Regions from separate parts of the Homo sapiens genome. Here region 1 is linked to region 2. Evidence: promoter capture Hi-C in 16 types of primary human blood cells and fetal thymus (Javierre and others, 2016). All regions are on one chromosome and are shown on one strand. Each heading gives the region's core, a stretch centred on a gene start or on the middle of the fragment in contact. The rest is flanking DNA. Distances are from core to core; before and after follow the strand shown. Region 1 overlaps TRAK2 (trafficking kinesin protein 2). Region 2 holds the start of TYW5 (tRNA-yW synthesizing protein 5).

Evidence for each region. The method cuts DNA at HindIII sites, captures the fragments that hold promoters and counts their contacts. A CHiCAGO score of 5 or more calls a contact.
Region 1: a contact is called between a fragment that was not itself captured here and the fragment with the promoter of TYW5 in region 2, in 1 of 17 cell types (monocytes). The highest score is 5.3, in monocytes.

What each region holds. Positions count from the first base shown.
Region 1 is chr2:201,446,117-201,451,047 of GRCh38, forward strand. The region is part of intron 1 of TRAK2 (trafficking kinesin protein 2); the gene reads right to left. Among named protein-coding and RNA genes, the nearest start is that of TRAK2, 2.9 kb to the right of the region's middle. RefSeq lists an enhancer at 4,697-4,931. The HindIII fragment of the contact is 4,144 bases long and covers 740-4,883 here.
Region 2 is chr2:199,953,729-199,959,065 of GRCh38, forward strand. It overlaps TYW5 (tRNA-yW synthesizing protein 5), which reads right to left and starts at 1,763. Exons shown (of 8, transcript NM_001039693.3): 1 at 1,665-1,763. The coding sequence starts at 1,742. It overlaps MAIP1 (matrix AAA peptidase interacting protein 1), which reads left to right and starts at 1,854. Exons shown (of 5, transcript NM_001394955.1): 1 at 1,854-2,520. The coding sequence starts at 2,071. RefSeq lists enhancers at 1,407-2,606, 1,717-1,836, 2,007-2,166, 2,187-2,286. The HindIII fragment of the contact is 7,808 bases long and covers 1-2,678 here.

The sequences.
Region 1 (4,931 bases), core at 1,562-4,061, 1.5 Mb after region 2:
CCTTACAACTTCTCTTGCCCCTCACTCCCCGAGAATTCTCTTCCCCAGACATTTCCCCTCCCTGCAAACTAGCTTCTCCATCTTCCCCAACCACACAACATATTCCAGCCAAAAGAAAGAACTGCATTTACTAGCTTCCTAGACACACCAGGAAATTCTCAGTCCTGTAACTCTGTCCATGCTATTTCTTCTAATTTTAATGTCCTCTCCCCATTCTACATATCCAAATTCTAGCCATGCTTCCCACACCAGCTCAATGCCACTTTTCCCAACAGGCCTTCCCAGAAACCCCAACTTGAAGGAGGTATTGCCTCCGAACACTTTCTGCTCTTCTCTAAAACAGTTTTTAAAACCTTAGAGCTGTTCCTTATCTCCTCTGATAAACTGCATGCCTCTTACAGCAAACATACTTATTTTTGTATTACTCTGCCCTCTTTTCACAAATAAAGAGCTAGATAAATATCATATAGCAACAGCACAGTGTAAAGCCAAGAACACAGACTCTAAAGACAGACTGAGTTTGAATCTTAACTCTGCTGCCTGTTAGCTATGTGATCTTGGACAAGCTACTTAATCTCTCTGTGCTTCAGTATGTTTACGTTTAAAATGAATAGTAGGTATTTCAAAAGGTTGTCAAAGAATTTGGCTTAAATCTGTGTCAGCACCATAAAAGTGTCTATTAAATACATAAGATCACTTTTTAGAGTGGAAAAATCTGAATATTCTGATAGTTGTATAAAGCTTTATGATCTATACAAGGAAAAGCAAAATGTCAAAATAAAGACAGCCTCTGGGTACAAACAGCTATATACAAATTCTTTCCCTATCTTCTTATGTACACCCTAAGGGTTAGCTGTGCCCTTTATAATGTTATATTAACAGTGGCTCTGTTTTAGTTAGACATTTCAATATTCTGGGAAAACTGTTAGTTCAGCATCCTGTGGCACTAGCTACCTTGGTTACCTTGTCTCCGGTCTTATTACCTTTCATTTATCCTTTACAAGTCTTAGTCTTTCTAAAATGCAAATCTAATGCTTTTCCACTGCTACAAACCACCTCCATCCCATCTTCCTTAGGATAAAGTTTAAGCCCCTTGGCATCTCATGTAAAATCTTCCTAATCCAGCCCCAGCCTAGTCTCCAGTTTCATTTCTCTCAACATTTATCTCTTCACCAAAAAACCTCAATCACCTAACCACAGCTTAAAGGCTTTTTGTATGTCAACTTCTATCACCTAACCACAGCTTAAAGCCTTTTTGTATGTCATTCCTTTTGCCTAGAACACCTATTTGTTAGTTTGCTAGGGGTTCCATAAAAAACTACCACAGACTGGGTGGCTTCAACAACAGAAATTTATTTTTTCACAATACTGGAGTCTGGAAGTCCAAAATCAAGGTGTTGGCAGGTTGGTTTCTCCTGAGGCCTCTCTCCTTGGTCTTCTTGATGAATCCTCACATGGTCTTTCCTTTGTGTGTGCAACTCCTGTGTCTCTTTTTGTGCTCAAATTTCCTTCTTATAAGGAAAACTGTCAGACTGGATTAGAACCCACCCTAACGGCTTCATCTGAACTTAATCACCCCAAAGCCCTGTCTCCAAATACAGTCACATTCTGAGGTTACGGCTGTTAGGGCTTCAATATAATTTTGGGAGGACACAATTCAGCCCATAACAACCCCTTCCCCTTTTCTCTGCCCAGGCTAATTCCCATTTGTTTTCCCAAGACTGGTCCAAGCCTTCCCACTCCAGAGTAACTTCAGTGTTCTTTCTCTGTGCTCCCAAAGTACCTCGGCAAGCTGTGATCCCATTGCTCAACACACTATGTTAATTGTCTCTTTCCTTCTTCAAACTACATTCCTTAAGAGCAAAGACTAAATTCCTAGCATTGGCACAGTGTGTGGCACACAGAAGGTGTTTAATAAAGATTTGATCACTGAAGGAAAATGAAAGAAAGAACAGGAACCTTGAAGTACGACAAGCATGGGTTCAAATCCTGATTCCACAGTTTACTTATCTGTGACTCTGAGCAAGTCATTACATGCTGAACTTCCATTTTAAATAAGGTAGTTGTAAAGACAAATGACTAACTCATAATGAAAGCACCCAGCTGTGGGGCTGGTACACAGTAGGTTCTCAATAAATGTTAGATTACAGATTTTGATCTTGTCTTCTCTGACACTCAGTACTACCATGTAGTAGCTACATGACCTTTGGTATATTTACTATCTTCTCTTTGCTTTAGTTGCCTATCTATAAAAACACCTCAGTGCTATTGTGAGGATAAGTTAATATAGGTAAAACATTATCTAACACATAGTATTACATAAATGTTTCCTATTATTATAAGAACACTGCAGATCTGAACAGATAATGACTCAACTATGAATAATTTAGTTCTTTTAATTACTAAGTCATTTAAATGTGACTATTACCTTTTTGCCTCCTATTTCTTACCAACTAAACAGGATGGTAACTAAAGAGGTTCAAAACTGGTACAGATAATATAATGAGAGCTCACAATAAACATGAAATAAGACATTATCTGTCTCATTCCTTATACTGGTATTTAACATATTTGGGGCACTAAAGCAAAGAAAGTTTCAGTGGAGAATAACACTTCTCTGCTCGTATTTTAATTTTTTTTAGAGATGGCGTCTCACTCTGTCACTCAAGCTGGAGTGCAGTGGTGCCATCATCGCTCAAGGGATCCTTTGATCTCAGCTGGCACTACAGGCACAAACAACCACACCCAGCTATTTTTTATTTTTGGTAGACATGGGGTTTTGCTATGTTGAACAGGCTGGTCTCAAGTCATCCTCCTGCCTCGGGCTCTCAAAGTGCTGAGATTACAGGTGTGAGTCACCACACCCAGCAGGGTCATATTTTTATTTGCAGACTCACAAAACCTGTAAACTGAAAAGAACCTTTTGATAAAAGTCCAGTCTTATAATTTCTTACATAAGTGAGATGGATTTGGAATGGGCTTTTCGGGTCTTACTGAGCAGTTCAGTAAGAAATGGGAATTGTAGGCAGAGAGAATCAGTTTGTTCAAAAGTACTAAAGCAGGGGTTCAGGACTTATTCCAGATGTCCAAGGTGTGTGTTGGAACCAGTCTTAGACAATAACACTAGACAATCCTCTTTAACCACTCAACCTTTAAAGTCTATAATTTCTGAAGTACGTATTAGTTACCTGATCTGTGACTTGGAAGCAAGGCAGATCTAGATTTAAATCTCCCCTTGTTACATAAGCAAGTCTTTGAGCCTCAGATTAGTGTGATAGGTTTGTTAAAGTGATTAAGTGAGCTAAAGTATGAAGAGCTCCCACCTGGGGTGCCTGGCAGATTGCAAATACTAAAATGTTGGTTCTTTTTTTTTTTTTTTTTTTTTGAGACTGAGTTTCACTCTTGTTGCCCAGACTGGAGTGCAATGGCTCGATCTTGGCTCACCGCAACCTCCGCCTCCTGGGTTCAAGCGATTCTCCTGCCTCAGCCTCCTCAGTAGCTGGGACTGCAGGCATGTGCCACCATGCCTGGCTAATTTTTTTTTTTTTTTGAGATGGAGTCTCGCTGTTGCCCAGGCTGGAGTGCAGGGGTGCAATCTTGGCTCACTGCAACCTCTGCCTCCGGGTTCAAGCAATTCTTCTGCCTTAGCCTCCGAGTAGCTGGGACTACAGGCGCGTGCCACCACGCCCGGCTAATTTCTGTATTTTTAGTAGAGACGGGGTTTCACCATATTGGCCAGGCTGGTGTATTTCCTTTCAGTAGAGACGGGTTTCTCCATGTTGGTCAGGCTGTTCTTGAACTCTCCACCTCAGGAGATCTGTCCTCCTTGGCCTCCCAAAGTGCTGGGATTACAGGAGTGAGCCACAGCGCCCGGCCAAATGTTGGTTCTTTCTAACAAACCTCTTCCATCATATGAATAAGTGTGTAAGATAACAAAACACTGTCTTTCACATGGTATGTGCTTGCTAAATGTCTGAGACTTGCTGGACATTACTTAATTTTAAAAATAGAAAACTGGAGCTGGGTGTGGCGGCTCACGTCTGTAATCCCAGCACTTTGGGAGGCCAAAGCGGGTGGATCATGAGGTCAAGAGATCGAGACCATCCTGGCCAACATGGTGAAACCCCATCTCTACTAAAAACACAAAAATTAGCTGGGCGTGGTGGTGCGCGCCTGTAGTCCCAGCTACTCTGCAGGCTGAGGCAGGAGAATCGCTTGAATCCGGGAGGCGGAGGTTGCAGTGAGCCGAGATCACCCCACTGCACTCCAGCCTGGCGACAGAGCGAGACTCTGTCTTAAAAAAAAAAAAGAAAAGAAAGTTGGAATAACTGCTAGGATGATAAAATGTCTTCATCCCTGACCTTTCTCACCTCCAAATGTCCTTCACAATTTGTTTTTAAGTGTCATGTCACCACCATTAACCTGCTATTTGGAGACTACTGTACCTCAGACTTCCAAGTCAACAGCAAAGATCTAAAGGTCGGGAAGATTTACGGAGACCAAGAACTGAAAGTGTTCCTTTTGTTCCTATGGTCCATTCCATCAACTTGATGAATATCCTGTGAAGTTACCTTTTTTTTTTTTTTTTCTGACGTAGAAACAGCAGGTCTAAGCAAAAGGTGCATGAGCAAGAGCAAGTAACATCCCTATTATTATGACGCAGATTTTTTTTTAAGTTGAAATTCAATTTTTGGGCTGCTACTAAAAAGGACATGTGCGAATATCTATTATTTACGCTTCAAACTAAAGTCAGCCGTTTTTCTTTTTCAAGATATGTGGCATCTGGCTCAAAATCAATTGCAAGAAAAGCCCAACTCTATTTGACCCAGAAAGAGCTCTTTCCAATACCCTCTCCTCCCACTTACATCACAGATGGCGACTGAAGCTTAAGGTTTAATGCCCGACCCTAAAGCCACTCATCCTAAAAGACA
Region 2 (5,337 bases), core at 513-3,012:
CCAGATAGAAAGGTCTTTTTTTCCAATTTTGTTATTAATTTCTAGTTTTACTGCCCATGGCCAGAGAAAGTTGTTTGTAATTTTCGACTTTTTAAAATGTAATGATGCTTTGTGCTGTATGTCTTGTCTGAAGAGATTAAATTACAAAATACCTTTTGCTATGACTCTTACAAAGCACTTCCACATACCCTAATCTTCACAACACTGCCCTTTAGGCAACTTACGTCTAGCACATTCTGAGATAGGGGGTGTCTAAGGACAGGGAGAGCAAGAACAACCCATCTAGTACAAGTCTCCAAACTAATAAAGGCTTGAATCCTCTCCCGTAGGTTGCTATCAAAAGAAAAACTTCATTCCTCCCGCATCCCCCCAACCCCGCCTTTTTTTTTTTTAAGCTAGGGTCTCACCCTCTCGCCCATGCTGGAGCAGTGGCAGGATCATGGATCACTGCAGCCTCGACCTCCCGGGCTCAAGCAGATCCTCCGACCTCAGCCTCCAGAGTAGCTGGGAATACAGGCGTGCGCCACCACGCCCGGCTAATTTTTGTATTTTTTGTACAGACGGGGATTCACCATATTGGCCAGGCTGGTCTTGAACTCCTGACCTCAAGTGATCCACCGACCTGGGCCTCCCAAAATGTTAGGATTACTGGCATGAACCACGGCGCCCAGCCCATCCGACTTTTGTAACACTCAGAATTGTAGTTTTGTTTGTTTGTTTGAGACCGAGTTTAGCTCTTGTTGCCCAGGCTGGAGTGCAGTGGCGCGATCTCGGCTCACTGCAACCTCCGCCTCCCGGGTTCAAGCGATTCTCCTGCCTCAGCCTCCCGAGTAGCTGGGATTACAGGTATGGGCCACCACCATGCCCGGCTAATTTTGTATTTTTAGTAGAGATGGGATTTCTACTGGCTGGTCTTGAACTCCTGACCTCCGGTGATCCGTCCGCCTCGGCCTCGCAAAGTGCTGGGATTACAGGCGTGAGCCACCGCGCCCGGCCCCAGAACTGTAATTCTATGACCACCCTTATAAATGTAAATATCAGGTAAGAAAATTGCTGGGTATTTTTCCTACCATAAACTGACTTACTGTAATCCTGTGGATTTTTCCTTTTAATACCTTGTTTTTCTTAGGTCTGGACTCCCTTGAAAAGCACTGCAAGTAAAAGCACTTTTTGTTTCCCTAATATTTCTCTATGAGTTTTCTTTTAAAGACCTAAGGTTCTAACTACAGGTATAAAAGACTCCAATGTCGGAACTAGAACCTAAGTAAGTTAGAATTCAAGACGAGTAGGAGTTTTCCGGGGGAATCCCATTGCTTTCCTTTTTGGCTCAGTGGAGTGAAAAGTTGTGCCTTCAAATCCATTAATTCGGAGCAGACTGACAGATGCGGAGTAAAGAGTTTAGGCAAAATACCTCTCGCACTCAGCTCTCCGCCATCATCTTGCTCCCCAGAAACATGGGACTTTCTCCGGAAATTTCAATAGAGGAGCCAGTCGGCGTCCCCCGTGCACCTTTCCCTTGGTCTAAGGGCCAACCAGTGATCTGCTGCCGTCCTGCGCCTCTTTCCCACACCCTGGGTCTCTAAAAACCAGTTCCCAGCTGTCCGAAAGGTAAAGACGTGTCTCTCGCTGGTTTCTCGAGGTTCTGCCCCGCGCGAGGGCCTCACCTGTGGGTAGAGGTGCTGCATGAACTGCTCCCGAGAAACGCCCTCCAGCCGGGGTACCGGGAGGTGCTGCCCGGCCATGGTTGCTCACGCCTGCCCTCTTCCAGGTCTTCGGAACTTCGGCTCTAAAGCGTTCCTCAGCGCCATCCGCCCGGAAACACGAGCGACAGAGAAAAGGTCCGCGAGGCCGGCAGACTCCAGAGTGGCTGGGTCCGAGCGCGGGGCGGGTTGCCGAAGGGCCTCGGCCTGGGCTGCGTGCTGGAGAGCGGGGACGGGGCCGACTCACCAGAGGCTGCAGCAACAGGTCCACTTTGCTCTCCAGTCTCTTTCTCCGACACCGCTGAGGCGGTTTCCCACCGACTTCCTTTCCATACAGCACCGGCAGGCACCGGTGTGAAGGGTCATAAAAATGGCGCTGGCCGCTCGTTTGCTACCCCAGTTCCTGCACTCTCGGTCGCTGCCCTGCGGGGCCGTCCGACTCCGGACTCCTGCTGTGGCCGAGGTGAGGCTGCCGTCGGCCACACTTTGCTACTTCTGCCGCTGTCGCCTCGGCTTGGGAGCGGCGTTATTTCCACGAAGCGCTAGGGCCTTGGCAGCCTCGGCGCTACCTGCCCAGGGCTCCCGGTGGCCAGTGCTCAGCAGCCCGGGACTCCCCGCAGCCTTCGCTTCTTTCCCTGCCTGCCCTCAGCGCAGCTACAGCACGGAGGAGAAGCCCCAGCAGCACCAGAAAACCAAGATGATCGTCCTGGGATTCTCCAACCCCATCAACTGGGTTAGGACTCGAATTAAGGCCTTCCTTATCTGGGCCTATTTCGACAAAGAGTTCAGCATCACAGAGTTCTCCGAGGGAGCGAAGCAGGTTTGTTTATTTCCCTGATTGACCTATCCGTCTCTAATGAGTTCAACTATTGCTCGCAGAAGTGCTTAGCAGTGAGTTTTCTTCACTGGGATACAAGTGATCAAACGTGATTAGTGGCCCAGACATAGAGCCTTCCAGCCATTGCTTGACTTAAAGTAAGCTTCTGGGCCGGGAATGGTGGTACACGCCTGTAGTCTCAGCTACTTGGGAGGCTGAAGGGGAGGATCGCTTGAACCCAGGAGTTGGACGTTGTAGTGAGCTGTGATCGTGCCATTGCACTCCAGCCTGGGATACAGAGCCAGGCCCTGTCTCAGAAAGAAAAAGCTATATGGCTCATCTTGTCTGAACATAATTTTCAAATTTACAAAGTGGGCAAGACAATGCCTGGCACATAGTAGGCACTCCATGAATGTTTGCTGAATACATTAATAAATGGGTAAGATTGAAGAATAATTGAGATAACATTTCCAAAGTGCTGTAATGTCACCTTGGGTAGAAGAGCAGAACTTCCTGCCAGCTATTAGACAGAGCCGACCAATACACCACCCCATACTCCGTAAAGATTAAACTGGAGATGAGCAATTTTACCCTTTCAAAGGATTTGCTGAGACTGCCTGGTGGCTAAGTGCACAGCACCCTGCACACAGAAAATATTTAGCCTTTAGAGATTCTTATCCCTGACTTTGTTAGTTACGTACCTGTTTCTGAATGGCTGATTATACCTTGCCTTACCCTTGTGACATATGGTCACTTGGGTCCTGAGATTATTTGTAGATTTTGTGGGTACATGCTTTTTTTTTTTTTTTTTGGACTCCTTTACAGATTGTATCGTTCCCAAACATTGCAGAACTGCTGATAACAATAGAAGTCGGCCAGGCATGGCGGCTCACGCCTGTAATCCCAGTACTTTGGGAGGCCGAGGCAGGTGGATCACAAGGTCAGGAGTTCGAGACCAGCCTGGCCAATATGGTGAAACAGTGTCTCTTCTAAAAATACAAAAATTAGGCGTGGCGAGCCCCTGTAGTCCCACCTACTCTGGAGGCTGAGGCAGGAGAATTGCATGAACCCGGGAGGTGGAGGTTGCAGTGAACCAAGATTGCGCCACTGCACTCCAGCCTGGGTGACAGAGCGAGACTCCGTCTCAAAAAACAAAAACAAACAAAAAAACCACAATAGAAGTCAGAAAGTTTATTTCCCGCTTCATACCTCCATATGCCTTAAAACCATGCTATTGGTGTAATCATTTTACAGTATTGGTTGTATACTGGTATTGATATTTTACTCCAAATTTATTTCAGATTCTTTCCATAATCATGGCCATTTGTATTTATAAGACCAATCAGTTGTAAATCAAATGTTTTCAACTTTGTTTAATAAGTGTCAGTATTAACTCCTGCTGCCTGCTTCTCTGAGTCAACTCTTGACTACTATATATATTTATATAAAAAAAGTCAAAGAACAAACTTGATTAAGATGCTTAACTCAGCATTATAATTGATAAACCTCTGCTCTTGTCAGTTCTCAAAGTCTTTTGTCCATGCAGTGGTAAGTTGTATTGATCCTACTGTTCTGTACAATGCCCACTGATGATATATGAGCTTGTCCACCTCATAACACATATGATGGTACCAGTTCATTTATGTTTCAGTAAGGAATGGAAATCATCTCCCCACCATGGGCAGGCATCAGGCCTCAGTACTTGTTTCCTCTGAACACACAGAGGAGCATGCAGCATTTTTGGGGTCACTCCAGTCCTAGTGGTCCTCCAGCTGTTAGCTATTTTCACCTCCTTCCTTGCTATTAAGCAGTATTTCCACCCCATTCATCAGCCAGCCTGTAAGCATTGTTGCTTATATAAAGCAAACAACCTGAATTTCAGTATCAAGGTGTCGGAGGGGTTGTTTTCTCCTGAGGCCTCTCTCAGCTTACAGATGGCCGTCTTCTTGCTGTGTCCTTGCATGGTCCTCCCTGTGCATGCGTGCTCCTGGTGGCTCTTACTCCACATTTGCTCCTCTTATAAGGATGCCAGTCAGATTGGATTTTGGCCCACCCTGATGGTCTCATTTAACTTAATCATCTCTTTAAGGCTTTATCTCCAAATATAGTCACATTTCAAGGTTCTGGGGGTTAGAGCTTCAGCATAAATTTTCGGGGAAGGAGAGCACAATTCATCCTATAACAGTTAGGCAGTATTCTCTGACATGCCATATCTGACATGCCTGTGCATCCTCTGGCAGCCTAGATTTCAGCTTAGATGTTTCTTCCTTTAGGAAGCCCTCTCTGATCCTCCCAGATTGGGTTAGAAGGCTCTTCTGTATGCTCCCAAGTCATCCTGTTCTTATCCCTGTCAAAATTCTTCAACTTGTCAGTTTACTTGTCCTTTTCCCATGTAGACTGAAAGTTCCCTGAAGACAGGTAGGATCTTAACTCACAGTTTGCTTTCTCATTGCTAGCAGTGAGGAGAATTGCAGTTGGGTTTTTCCCTCCTTGAAAATGGAATTTCATACTTCAAAGTTAGGATCTACTGTTTTAGACCACATAAACTAATGACCTTCTCTCCCACTTTCCCAAACCTACATTATCTCCCATACTGAGATTCAGACTACAGCCCAGATTTCCAGACTCCCAATGCAGTCTCGACTGTTCTCCTTTCCAACTGCTATCTATGCATGATTAAGAGGTAGGTCATATAACTGCCAAATGATTGTTTACTTCATCATTTTAAAAAGAAATATAAAGGAGGATTTTTATTGAGACATCTAGATTGTACACCACACACTATCATTTCCCGGTCCTGAGAGTGGATCCAGAATTAAA